Linked DNA regions of Homo sapiens: regions 1 and 3 are each linked to region 2. Evidence: promoter capture Hi-C in 16 types of primary human blood cells and fetal thymus (Javierre and others, 2016). All regions are on one chromosome and are shown on one strand. Each heading gives the region's core, a stretch centred on a gene start or on the middle of the fragment in contact. The rest is flanking DNA. Distances are from core to core; before and after follow the strand shown.

Region 1 (4,277 bases), core at 16-2,515, 320 kb before region 2:
TCAGATACACTATGCTGAGGTTGAGGACCAGATACACTATGCTGAGGATCAGATACACCATGCTGAGGTTGAGGATCAGATACACTATGCTGAGGCTGAGGACCAGATACACCATGCTGAGGCTGAGGACCAGATACACTATGCTGAGGATCAGATACACTATGCTGAGGTTGAGGACCAGATACCCTATGCTGAGGCTGAGGACCAGATACACCATGCTGAGGCTGAGGACCAGATACACCATGCTGAGGCTGAGGACCAGATACACCATGCTGAGGCTGAGGACCAGATACACCATGCTGAGGCTGAGGATCAGATACACCATGCTGAGGCTGAGGACCAGATACACCATGCTGAGGCTGAGGATCACATACACCATGCTGAGGCTGAGGACCAGATACACCATGCTGAGGCTGAGGACCAGATACACCATGCTGAGGCTGAGGACCAGATACACCATGCTGAGGTTGAGGACCAGATACACCATGCTGAGGTTGAGGATCAGATACACTATGCTGAGGCTGAGGACCAGATACACTATGCTGAGGCTGAGGATCAGATACACCATGCTGAGGTTGAGGATCAGATACATCTCCTTCCTGTCTTCAGGGCAATGAATGAAGGAGAAGGAAAGTAGTTCTCAGGAGGTTTATGAATTTTTGTTTTCAAAAAGCTTTACTCATAAATAAGTAGATTTTAAACCAAGAAATCATACACTGCTGAAAGGAGTATCAGCAACTTTCAAGAAGGGCAATTAGGTCGTATCTATCAAAAGACAAACGACAAATGCTTATAGCTGTGGCCCAGCTTTTCTAATTCTGGGAATTATCTCACAGTAAATATAGATGTTATTCATTGCAGTACTGTTTATAATAGCAACAGTCAGGAAACGACCTACATTTCAACGGAAGATTGAATATAGCATAATACACCCACTAAAAGGTGGGAGGATATATAAACAATTTACTTAGATATTCACAGAAATGGGTAATATTGGTGGCCTGTTATAGGGATACCAGGTGGCTGTGAGACAGGTCTTGAGAGGGAGACATTTTACTTTATGCCCTTTTTGTATTTTATGGATATTAAACTGTGGGAATGTATTGATTTCACTTGATTTGATTTTTTGAGACAGGGTCTGGCTCTGTCACCCTGGCTGGAGTGCAGTGGCATGGTCTCAGATCACTGAAACCTCCACCTCCCAGGCTCAAATGATCCTCCCGCCTCAGCCTCCCGAGAAGCTGGGACTACAGCGCACACCACCACGCCCCGCTGACTACAGCGCACCCCGCCACGCCCCGCAGACTACAGCGCACCCCGCCACGCCCCACTGGCTACAGTGCACACCGCCACGCCCCACTGGCTACAGCGCACACCACTACGCTCAGCTGATTTTTGTATTTTTTGTACAGATGGGGTTTCACATGTTGCCCAAGCTAGTTGTATTTTTATTTATTTATTTATTTGAGATGGAGTCTTGCTCTGTTGCCCAGGCTGGAGTGTGGTGACATGATCTAGGCTCACTGCAACCTCTGCCTCCTGGGTTCAAGTGACTATCCTGCCTCAGCCTCCCAAGTCACTGGGATTACAGGCGAAAGCCACCAAGCCGGGATAATTTTTGTATTTTTATATTCGTATCCCATGTTGGCCAGGCTGGTCTCAATTTCCTGACCTCAAGTGATCTGCCCGCCTTGGCCTCCCGAAGTTCTGGGATTACGGGCGTGAGCCACCATGCCCAGCCCAGGCTGGTTGTATTGATTTTATAATACAGGAAATAAAAATTTTAAATTAAATATACCAATCCAATGAAAAACTAAGAATTAATTAATGGATTTAAGAGTCAGAAAGGTCATAGCTCAAGCTTTGACCAAGCTTTCCAACCAGCTTTCTTCCTCTGTAACCTTAACTTCCTTATGCCTCAGTTTTCTCATCTATGAGAGAAAGCAGGCTGGGTACAGTAGCTCACACCTGTAATTCCAGCACCTTGGGAGACCAAGGTAGGAGGACTGCTTGAGCCCAGGAGTCTGAGACCAGCCTGGGCAACACAGTGAAACCCTATCTCTATTAAAATTATTTTTTACTGCCAGCATGTGTCAACTAAAAAAAAAGAAGAAAAAAATATTTTTAAAAAGATAATTTTTAATAAGACAAAGCAAAATAAAACAAAATTTGAGCATATAATCCCCCTTCTATGTCCCAGAAATCACTGCATTGGCTCTATGCCTATTAAAAAATAATACATTAAAAAGATTTTTGGGCCGGGCACAGTGGCTCACGCCTGTAATCCCAGCACTTTGGGAGGCCAAGGCAGGTGGATCACCTGAGGTCAGCAGTTGAGGCCAGCCTGGCCAACATGGTGAAACCCTGTGTCTACTAAAAATACAAAAATTAGCTGGGTATGGTGGTGGGCGCCTGTAATCCCAGCTACTCGGGAGGCTGAGGCAGGAGAATCTCTTGAACCCAGGAGGCAGAGGTTGCAGTGAGCTGAGATCGCGCCACTGCACTCCAGCCTGCGAGACAGAGCAAGACTCTGTCTCAAAAAAAAAAAAAATTGAAGTATCCCAGAAGTCACGTCCATGAAGTAACTAACATAGTTCCATTTTCCCTAAACAAGTCCAGAGGGGCTATGATCTCACACTATTCGATCCTGAAACACAAGGGATAGAATATACAAATGAAGACTACTTTGTTGTTTCTTTGCTACTAGACAGCATACAGCAGGGAAATTTTGCTCAAGAAACACATTGCCTGGATGGTGGCAATAGCACAGAATGCTGTTGATCAAGTGGCTGCTTGCAGCACAGCTAATCATCCTATGTTAGGCCAAGTAGATCACTGAACCTTTTCTCAGACCAATCCCAGATGCGCCTCTTGCTCTCTCCAGTGCTTCCCCAGCCTACCAACATCTCAACTGGCCACCATTCCATCCCAAGTCTTTGGCAAACCCAGGCTGATATATTAACCAAACGGCCAGAAGGGGTCACTGTTGAACTAGTCTGGGAAGAAAGCTAGCGTTAGCCATTCTTTTACCAAGTGGCTATTGGCCAGGATAAACACACCCCTGATTTAATGTATGTTATAGTATATATAATCATATTTATATAAATTATATACTTTTAATATAATTTTTCCTGTTTCTATTATATAATGTACTATATAATACATATTTAATATCATTTATATATTATGCATATATTACATATGTATATATGTTATATAGATAGATAGATAGATTTTTTTTTTTTGAGACGGAGTCTCACTCTGTCGCCCAGGCTAGAGTGCAGTGACGTGACCTAGGCTCACTGCAACCTCTGCCTCCCAGGCTCAAGTGATTCTCCTGTCTCAGCCTCCTGAATAGCTGGGATTACAGGTGTGTGCCACCACGCCTGGCTAATTTTTTATATTTTTAGTAGAGACGGGGTTTCACCATGTTAGCCAGGATGGTCTCGATCTCCTGACCTTATGATCCACCCACCTCAGCTTTCCAAAGTGCTGGGATTACAGGTGTGAGTCACTGTACCTGGCCTATATATATATTTTTTTAATTTTTATTTATGTATTTATTTATTTTTTAAGATAGGGTCTCTGTCACCCAGGCTGAAGTGCAGTGGTGCAATCATGACTTGCCGTGGTCTAGACCTCCTGGGCTCAAACAATCCTCTCACCTCAGCCTCCTGAGTGGCTGGGACTATAGATGCACACCACCACACCTGGCTAATTATTAAAATTTTTGTAGAGATGGGATCTCACTGTATTGCCCAGGCTGGCCTTGAATTCCTAGCCTCAAGCAATCCTTCTGCCTTGGCCTCCCAAAGTGCTGGGATTATAGGCATGAGCCACCACACTCAACCTCTGTATATTATTAACAGCAACTCCCTTTCATGCTCAAAACCGTCCTGATTTGGATGATAAATTATATGGTTTATGTGGGTTATGAATTATACGCTGCACCACTGGTGACTAAGTAACCATATGTCCTCCTTTAGGCAGAAGAAACCTGGGTTTCAGTTAATGATCTCTTTTGATAGATTTACTCTCCCAAATACCTACCACCGAAACATTCTGTTCCTAACATTTCCATTGCCCTTCACACTCTCCCTTTTCCTTCCTTTCTCTGAGTTAAACATATTGCTGATTTTTTTCATCTCCCAAAAGATTCCTAGAGCTGACCTTCTTGTCTCTCAAATCATATTTGTTTTTCTCTAAGTAGAGAATCTTCTCCTAGATTATACAACCTCCCTCGTAAAAACCTGGGGAGCAGGAGGGAGGTGTTGAAA
Region 2 (4,835 bases), core at 1,406-3,905:
GAGGTGAAGTGTCACCATCCCCACATTCACGTATCAAGTCAACAAGCTTCTCTTTTCCTATGGAGTTGCCTAAAGCGTTAAGCACAGCAGTTAATCATATCCTACTGTAAATTACTTTAATTAGATAATAGATCACTTCCTTCTAATACCTAAAGAAATCACACAGAGTGGGTGAGGGAAAGGTGAGTTTTTTCTTGTGTTTTTTTTTTGAGACAGTATCTCCCTCTGTTACCCATACTGGAGTGTAGTGGCCCAATCTCTGCTCACTGCAACTTCCACCTTCGGGGCTCAAGTAATCCTCCCACCTCAGTCTCCCAAGTAGCTGGGATTACAGGCATGCACCACCACGCCCAGCTAATTATCTTATTTTTTGTAGAGACAGGATTTCACCATGTTGCCCAAGCTGGTCTAACTCCTGAGCTCAAGCAATCCACCCACCTCGGCCTCCCAAAGTGCTGGGATTACAGGCATGAGCCACTGTGCCCTGCCAGGTGAGTTATTTTGAGAGCATTTTTTTCTTTTTTTTTTTTTTGAGACAGAGTTTCGCTCTCGTCGCCCAGGCTGGAGTGCAATGGTGCAATCTCGGCTCACTGCAACCTCCGTCTCCCAGGTTCAAGCGATTCTTGTGCCTCAGCCTCCTGAGTAGCTGGAACTACAGGCATGCACCACCACGCCCGGTTAATTTTTGTATGTTTGGTAGAGATGGGGTTTCACCATGTTGGCCAGGCTGGTCTCAAACTCCTGACTGCAGGTGATCCGCCCGCTTCGGCCTCCCAAAGTGCTGGGATTCCAGGCGTGAGCCACGGCACCCGGCCGAGAGCATTTTTTAAAAGGGTGAAGTGCCACAGCCGGCAGTTCTCATCAGCCAGAGCGCAGAATGAGAGTACTGAACATGGGGAAGGGGCTTGGTGGGGTGGGTGATGAGCAGGTGAAAGATTTGTAAAAAAGAAAAGGAGGGGTTGAGAAGGGTAATCTTACTTTGAAATTCTACCTGGGGCGCTCAGGAGACGGTCTGCCGTTGAAAGTCACCTCAGCGGCTGGACTAGATTAGTAAGAATGACAACATCGCATCCTTCAAAGGCTCTGCCTCGGCTGCACTGAGACACGATAAAGGCCAGTCTTTAAAAACTGAGTGATCTCTAAACACTCTGCACTAGTCATACCACCACCGTCCCGTTCAAGAGTCTGTGCCTCTAAGGCTGTTCATTCTGTCTAGTTCATGATCCCTTTCTCAGATGGATCAACTCTGCTTATCCTTGAAGACTTCAAAGAAATTAGTGAGAGACAGTCACCATCACCAGAGTCAGCACAGGTCAACTTTTCTCTACAGGCTTGGGGTTTCTGAAGTTGGACTTGATGTGGAGAAGCTGGATAGCAACCAAAATGATTGAAGGGCTGTGGCGCTGGCACTGGTAAGAATGAAAAGAATTAGGGTTACTGGACTTGGTGAAAAAGACATGAGGAGAAGGGACAGGCAAATAATAATCAAACACCATGAATCAGAGGGTAGGGAAGGTAGCCACCGTTCCTTTGCTTTTACTAGAGACTAAGAAATGGATTATACATAGCAAGAAGCTTCAGAAAAGATTTCTTACTACATAAAGGTTCCAAGACATTGGAGTTGACCAAGGGAGTCTGTGAACCCTATTATTTTAATTACTCAGCTCATGGAGTTGTTTTGAGGATTACGTATATAAAAATCTGCGTAAATGACGTAGTATACAGTGCCTGGTTCACACCGTGGCTCAAATGATGGTTATTATTATTCTCTTACTAAGCATGCTTTAAAGGCTGTCGGAAAACTTTGGGGCCACCTAGGAAATCGTAGTATAATCAAATAATGCTGAAATTCTTGTGTGTGTGTGTGTGTGTGTGTGTGTGTGTGTGTGAGGTAGGGGCTCACTCTGTCGCCCAGGCTGGAGCACAGCAGGGCGATTACGGTTCACCTCAGCCTCGACCTCCCGGGCTCAGCCTCCCAAGTAGCTGGGACCAGAGGCGCACGCCACCACCCTCGGCTAATTTTTCTATTTTTTTGTAGCGACACTGCCTCGCAATGTTGCCCAAGCTGGGATGCTGAAATTCTTCCCCTTCCAAGAATCCATCTATAATTATAGCCTCCACGTCATTCTCCCTATTGGAATGTTTAATTGACTAAAACTACATTGCCTTCATCTGCTTACTAAGCGGTGGATCCAGTAAAGACCACATCTTGTCCAAAAGACGGCAGCACTTAATTAGCGCTCAAATGGCACTCGAACGTTTGGGCGAGGGGGTGTTCAGTCGCAGCCACCTTACTTTGCGAAGGCACACAGGGACAGACGTTCGCTAAGTGCCGATACTTAGGGAGAACGAGAGGGCCTGACCAGGTAAAGACGGCCTCCGCTGCCCAAGCTACACAAAAAGGTTGGGGAGCCAGGACCCGGCAAGCAAGGAGAGAAAAGTTTCATGCGTTGAGCTGGAGTCTGAAGCAAGGACCTAACGGACACAGGGAAACGTCACAGGAAAGGGAGCCCAGGAGAGCAGACGCGGAGCCACCAGACCAGAAAAAGGAAAAAGCACTGGAAAACAGCATCGAAGTCACCGGAAAGCAGCATCGAAGCCACCGGCGCCAGCCTCATACCTGCGCTTCCCGCTCCCCTCCTCGGCGCCTAGTGATAACCTCACCCGCCGGCGCCCAATCCCGTCGAGCGTCAGGCGTGAGGCGGCGCAGCCAAACAGTCACATCCGGGGCCGAGAGGAACCGCGAACGAGCTGGGCGTGCGCCCTTGCTTCGTGCCCTCAACCCGCATGGCGGAGCCGCTGGCGCGCCGCGGAGAGGCCGGGCGAGTCGGGCGGTTTCGGCGCCCGCGCTGAGCCGCGGAGGAGGGGCGGAGGACGCCCCTGCAGCCGGTGCGTCTGCCCTCAGTGAGGCGGGGCGCGCGGCGGACGCCCCCGGGCAGGGGCGGGAGTGGTGGAGGCGCCGGCGGTTGGCACTGACAGGGGCGGTGAGCGAGCCGCTCCGGTCTCCGGGCGAGGCTTGGCCTTCCGAGCAGAGACGGCGGGAAGCGGCGGCGGCAGCGGCGGCCCTAGGGCCGGCTGGTGAGGCGATGGCGGCGCCGGCCCCGGGGGCTGGGGCAGCCTCGGGCGGCGCTGGCTGTAGCGGCGGCGGCGCGGGCGCGGGCGCGGGCTCGGGCTCTGGGGCCGCGGGGGCCGGGGGCCGGCTGCCCAGCCGGGTGCTGGAGTTGGTGTTCTCTTACCTGGAGCTGTCCGAGCTGCGGAGCTGCGCCCTGGTGTGCAAGCACTGGTACCGCTGCCTGCACGGCGATGAGAACAGCGAGGTGTGGCGGAGCCTGTGCGCCCGCAGCCTGGCAGAAGAGGCTCTGCGCACGGACATCCTGTGCAACCTGCCCAGCTACAAGGCCAAGGTGAGAGAGCCCCGGGCCACACCGCTGCCCCCAGTCCCGCTCCCCGGCGTCGTTCGCGGTGTTTCTCATCCGAGCTTCTGAGTCAGAAGCTTCGCCTCACCAGCCCGCCTTTCCACGGCTCCAGTCAGTATCTTCCTCACCTCCCCCCAAGATAAAGATTCTCTTTTCTTTGGATCGAAGTTCTGCTCCTTAACCCATCCCACTTCCGTGATCCACTTTTCAAACAACTAGGTAGTTTGCCTCACTCATTCAACTTTTGACAGTTTTCCCCGTTAAAGACAGACCACCACTCTTGTACCTTTTAATGCCCTCATCCTACTTTTCTCCCCGGCCTCCAGATAGACTTCATTATATTAAATAATCCCGGCCACCTTAACATGGGCTTAGTTTCTAAGTTTCTAAGTTTCTAGTTTGCTTTCACTCCACGTTTATCTCATCTTTTCCAAGCTCTGATTTTTAACCATTTGTTTTCATTATTTTCCCCCAAGTTCTCTTTAGTTCCCTCCACTATATTGGAGGCTTACAAGTGAGTGTAGTTCTAGTCATCCTGCTCACTTACAAGATACAGGCTTTTATAGAACGTCCACGGGCACCACCTAACATACTGCTTTGTCCTGCTGTTATTGGCTGTTTCCTTGCTAACTTTTTAATAGTTCCACATTGATGGTGTCTCTCTTTTTCTATTTGTCATCTAACGTGCTGATTACAGTTTCGCTGCATCCTTCCTGCATATTCCGCCCGCCTTCATATACAAAATAAAAATGTCAAGGAACAAGTTGTGGTACGGCTGAAAGGACTCTCAGGCCGAATAAACAAAGGGTCTTGGTCTTGAGTTGAGTTGAATGGTTAACAGCTATTCAGTATAGCAGTCAATCAAGATCATATATAAGAGAAGATAAAGTCTGATTGCAATGTGTTAAACATAATGAATGCATTAGTAACTAAAACGATAACATCCCCCCCTTTTTTTTTTTTTTTGAGACGGAGTGCAATGGCGTGATCTCGGCTCACCGCAACCTCCGCCTTCCAGGTTCAAGCAATTGTCTTGCCTCAGCCTCCCGAGTAGCTGGGATTACAGGCATGCGCCACCATGCCCGGCTAATTTTGTATTTTTAGTAGAGTTGTGGTTTCTTCTTGTTGGTTAGGCTGGCCTCGAACTCCCGACCTCAGGTGATCCGCCCTCCTCGGCCTCCCAGAGTGCTGGGATTAGAGGCGTGAGCCACCGCGCGATAACACCCCCTTTTTAATGCTAGCTTGCCAACAGGGGTCGGAGTAAGAAGTAAAAATTTTTTTTTCATGTGAAGCATGTAAAATTTATACTTATGTAGTAAAACCGGTTTTAGTTATAGAAGATAGGGAACATTGCCATTAAATATGTAAACTATCAAGTTGTTTCTCTTTTCTTTTTTCTTTTTTTTTTTTTTTTTGAGA
Region 3 (4,513 bases), core at 1,651-4,150, 390 kb after region 2:
GATGTGTCCCACACCGCCTAACAGATGAGTGAGTGTCCCAGGTCTGGGTTCCCTTACCCCTCTCTTGAATCTACAGAAGAGAAGTTTCATGATCTCAGATCACAGCCCTATGGAAGCTCTTGCCAAACACTGGGGAAGCCTAACTCTAATAAAAGTGTTCCCATGGGAAGTCCAACACAGCTCTCATTCTGAATGACCTGTATTGTTGGTCCAAGCAGGGATACATCAAAGAGACTGGTGGTTTATTAGCATTACCCAGAAGGTCAGTGTCACCACTCGGGAAGGAGATATGAAGTCCCCACTTCCAAGTTCTTACCCCAGAGAGAGAGGCTGCTGCTCTGCTTGTGGATTTACTACTCATCTACCCAGACATGCTACTCCCTCCCCACAAAGTCTCCCGTCAGCTTCTCAAGCAGACTCTGCTGCAGCTTGTCTCAGCCACACATGCGGAGTTTTACCTGCCATCACCTCAGGGGACTGGAAGAACTCATCTGGGTGCACATAGCCCGTCTGCGGAAGGAGACACCACAGCACTCGGAGCAGGCTGAGACCACCCCAAAGCACCCTGACTGCCATCTTCAGATCCAGTTGTTGCCAACACACCGGGCCCAAAACCTGGAATGATGTCCCAGCTGCTACAGATGCTACGCTGGATCCACAGATCTGCATCTGTTGAGGATAACAGTTGTTGGTTATCACGATGTAAATTATAATATATTCAACTGTCTGAACAAACTGAAAATGGATCTGTCATTTAATAAAAATGACAATAATAATAATAGCTACTTCATACTCTATGCCCACTAACTGCCAGGCACGTGACATGCATATTTCATTTAATCCTTTCCACAGTCTGGAGCAGTGGGTCTTAGGATCCCTGTTGTACAGATGGGGAAACGGAGGCCTCTGCTGAGTAACTTGGTTACTTGCTGATCATATTTGCTAAGGAGTCTGATGGTTCATTTTATGTGTCCACTTGACTGGCCTAAGAGATACCCAGATAGCTGGTAGAACATTATTTCTGGCAGTGTCTATAAGGGTATTTCAGGGAGAGATTAGCCTTTGTTGTGGTTTTTTTGTTTGTTTGTTTTTTGAGACGAAGTCTTGCTCTGTCACCCAGGCTGGAGTGCGGTGGCATGATCTGGGCTCACCGCAACCTCCACCTCCCAGGTTCAAGTGATTCTCCTGCCTCAGCCTCCTGAGAAGCTGGGATTACAGGCACACGCCACTACGCCCGGCTAATTTTTGTATTTTTAGTAGAGACGGGGTTTCATCATGTTGGTGAGGCTGGTCTTGAACTCCTGACCTCATGATCCGCCCACTTTGGCCTCCCAAACTCCTGGGATTACAGGCGTGAGCCACCGTGCCCAGCTAAGATTAGCCTTTGAATTGGTAGACTAAGAAGATCAGCTGCACCAGTGTGGGTGGGCATGATCCAACCCATTGAGGGTCTGAATAAAACAGAAAGGTGGAGGAAGGGTGAATTTGCACTCTCTTCAGCTGGGATAGCCATCTTCTCCTGCCTCAGACATCGGTGCTCCTGGTTCTTGGGTCTTCAGACTCTATGTCTCACACCAGTGTGCCCCAACCCACCTCCCTGAATCAAGCTCTCAGGCCGTCGGACTAGGACTGGGAGTTACACTGTAGGCTCCTCTGTTTCTAAGGCTCCCGACTCAGACTGAATTCAACCACCAGCTTTCCTGGTTCTCCAGCTTGCAGGTGTCAGATTGTGGGACTTCACCAGCCCCCATAATTGCATGAGCTAATTTTCATAGTAAATGATAAAGCCAGTTCCCTATTGTTTCTGTTTCTCTGGAGAATCCTGACTTATACAGGGTCTAAATATGACATTTGCTCAATGTGACATTTGCAAGGAAGATCAGGGTACCCAACAAATCTGGGTCTTGCAGCCCATCCTGATCACCAGCTCCTATCCACAGGCCAGTATGGCAGGCTGCTTCTTGCATTTCTGAAAACTTGGGAAAGTCAACGGATGCCACCCATTTCCCTGCAAAAATTACACTCAACCCCATTGTTTCCAGTCACTCCCTCCAACTTTCACACACCCTGGAACCTGCCTTTTGGAAGGTGATGGGAACATTTGTAACTCTATATGATGAGAATCCTAACTCCCTCAACTCAAATATAGTATTAACTGCATCTCAGAAGTTTTCTATGTAACTCAAAGAGCAGTGACAATCTGAGCCCATGGCATGCTGGATCTGTAAGTCCACAGCATCACTGCTGAACAGGAAAGCAAGCTTGACAACCTGCTTGTCCCTCCTCCAGAAATAGTGATGTTGCCCTGACTTCTTGATATTTTAAATTCTGACCTTAAATAGTTCTTGCTCTCAGGTGTAATGTCAGGTGGCTCACACCTATAATCCCAGAACTTTGGGAGGCTGAGATGAAAGGATCGCTTGAAACCAGGAGGTCAGACCAGCCTGGGCAGCAAAGTGAGATCCCCATTTCTACGAAAAAATAGCTGGACACAGTGGTGTGTGCTGGTAATCCCAGCTATTCAGGAGGCTGAGACAAGAGGATCACTTGAACCCAGGAATTTGAGGCTGCAGAGAGCTATGATCACACTACTGCACTTCTGCCTAGGTGACAGAGCAAGACCCTGTCAAAAAAAAAAAGCCAGGTGCGGTGGCTCACACCTGGAATCCCAGCCCTTTGGGAGGCTGAGGCAGGCAGATTGCTTTAAGTCAGGAGTTTGAGACCAGCCTGGCCAACATGGCAAAAACCTGTCTTTACCAAAAAAATACAAAATTTAGCCAGGTGTGGTGGTGTGCACCTGTAATCCCAGCTACTCGGGTGGCTAAGGCATGAGAATTGCTTGGACCCAGGAGGTGGAGGTTGTGGTGAGCTGAGATCACACCACAGCACCCTAGCCTGGAGGACAGAGCAAGACTCTGTCTCAATCAATCAATAAAAAGTTTTTTTTAAAAAGAAAACGTTGTTAACTATAGTTACCCTACTCTGCTATCAAACATTAGAAATTAAATCTTCTAACTGTAGTTTGTACTGTAGCTTATATTCTAAACTGATTTTTATTCCTAATATTGGTTTACTTGTGCATTCTTTTTTCTTTCTTTATAATCGTCACCAGAATTGTGTTGATTTTGCGAATTTCTTCAAAACATCAACTTTTGCCCTTGTTTTTAATTTCTTTGCTCATCTTTATTTTTTCTTTCCTTTTACTCTTTTGGGTGATTATTTCATTGTTTTATTTCAGATTTTTTGCTATGAGCACAGCTCGTTAATTTGGAGCCTTATTTTCTATGAGAAGTGTTGAAGGCCACACAGTTTTCTCTAAATTAGTATTAACTGTACACTGCAAGTTTTGCTATGTAATAATTTCATCAACTTTTGGTTCTAAATATTTCTAATTGCCATTGTAATTTCTTCCTCCACAAATGCCTTATGGTTGAAGGATTTAATTTTTAATGGTCATTTTTGTAGATATTCCATGGATGCTTGAGAACACCATACATTCTATACTTACTGGATATGGAGTTCTATAAGTTGTCATTAGATCAAGCTTATTAGTTGTGTTGTTGAAATCTTTTTTTTTTTTTGAGATAGGGTCTCACTGCGTTGCCCAGTCTGGAGTGCAGTGGCACGATCATGGCTTACTGTAGCCTCGACCTCCTGGGATCAAGCGATCCTCTGACCTCAGCCTCCTGAGTAGCTAGGAAGACGGGTATGTGCCACCATCCTTGGTTAATTTTTAAATTTTTTGTAGAGACAAAGTCTTGCTATGTTGCCCAGGCTGGTCTTGACCTCCTGCGTTCAAGCAATCCTCCCACCTTGGCCTCCCAAAGTGCTCGGATTACATGCATGAGCCACCTTGCCTGGCCCAAATCTTTTATATTCTTAATTTATTGATTTTTTACTGCTTATTTTATCAATCACAGAAATGTGTGTTGAACTAGCTCATGAAATAGTTGACTTGTCTAATTTTCCTTGTAATTCTGTCAATTTTAGTTCATTTTTGAAGCTATATTATTATATTTGTAGAAGTTTATAATTGTTATGCCTTATTGGAAAATTGAATATCTTATCATTATATAGTAATCTTTTAATCTCTAGTTCTGTTTTGTCCTAAAATATATTTTTTCTGATATTACTGTTGCTATACACACTTTTTGGAAACTTAGTATTTACCTGGTACATCATTTTCCAGCCTTTTCTTTTCTTTTCTTTCTTTCTTTTTTTTTTTTTTTTTTTTGAGATAGTCTCGCTCTGCTGCCCAGGCTGGAGTGCAGTGGCATGATCTTGGCTCACTGCAACCTCTGCCCCTCCTGGGTTCAAGCGATTCTCCTGCCTCAGCCTCCCGAGTAGCTGGGACTATAGGTGCGCACCACCACGGCTGCCTAATTTTTGTATTTTTAGTAGAGACGGGGTTTTGCCGTGTTGGCCATGCTGGTCTCGAACTCCTGACCTCAGGTGATCTGCCCACCTCAGCCTCCCAAGATGCTGGGATTACAGATGTCAGCCACTGCGCCCG

The links. Contacts are between HindIII fragments. The CHiCAGO score rates a contact against its expected background, and 5 or more counts as called.
Region 1: a fragment that was not itself captured here is called in contact with the fragment with the promoter of WDR53 in region 2 in 11 of 17 cell types (naive CD8 T cells, megakaryocytes, naive CD4 T cells and 8 more); the score reaches 8.7 in naive CD8 T cells.
Region 3: a contact is called between a fragment that was not itself captured here and the fragment with the promoter of WDR53 in region 2, in 3 of 17 cell types (fetal thymus, endothelial precursors and naive B cells). The highest score is 5.2, in fetal thymus.

What each region holds. Positions count from the first base shown.
Region 1 is chr3:196,250,800-196,255,076 of GRCh38, forward strand. The region is part of intron 3 of PCYT1A (phosphate cytidylyltransferase 1A, choline); the gene reads right to left. Among named protein-coding and RNA genes, the nearest start is that of PCYT1A, 35 kb to the right of the region's middle. The HindIII fragment of the contact is 1,188 bases long and covers 672-1,859 here.
Region 2 is chr3:196,565,899-196,570,733 of GRCh38, forward strand. It overlaps WDR53 (WD repeat domain 53), which reads right to left and starts at 2,656. Exons shown (of 4, transcript NM_182627.3): 1 at 2,621-2,656; 2 at 979-1,409. FBXO45 (F-box protein 45) reads left to right here and starts at 2,762. Exons shown (of 3, transcript NM_001105573.2): 1 at 2,762-3,404. The coding sequence starts at 3,087. RefSeq lists enhancers at 798-1,997, 4,015-4,563, 4,564-4,835 and silencers at 2,719-3,258, 3,380-3,674. The HindIII fragment of the contact is 1,918 bases long and covers 1,574-3,491 here.
Region 3 is chr3:196,951,363-196,955,875 of GRCh38, forward strand. It overlaps PIGZ (phosphatidylinositol glycan anchor biosynthesis class Z (Gwada blood group)), which reads right to left. Exons shown (of 3, transcript NM_025163.4): 2 at 459-669. The coding sequence starts at 669. Among named protein-coding and RNA genes, the nearest start is that of NCBP2AS2, 11 kb to the left of the region's middle. RefSeq lists a silencer at 1-290. The HindIII fragment of the contact is 1,283 bases long and covers 2,260-3,542 here.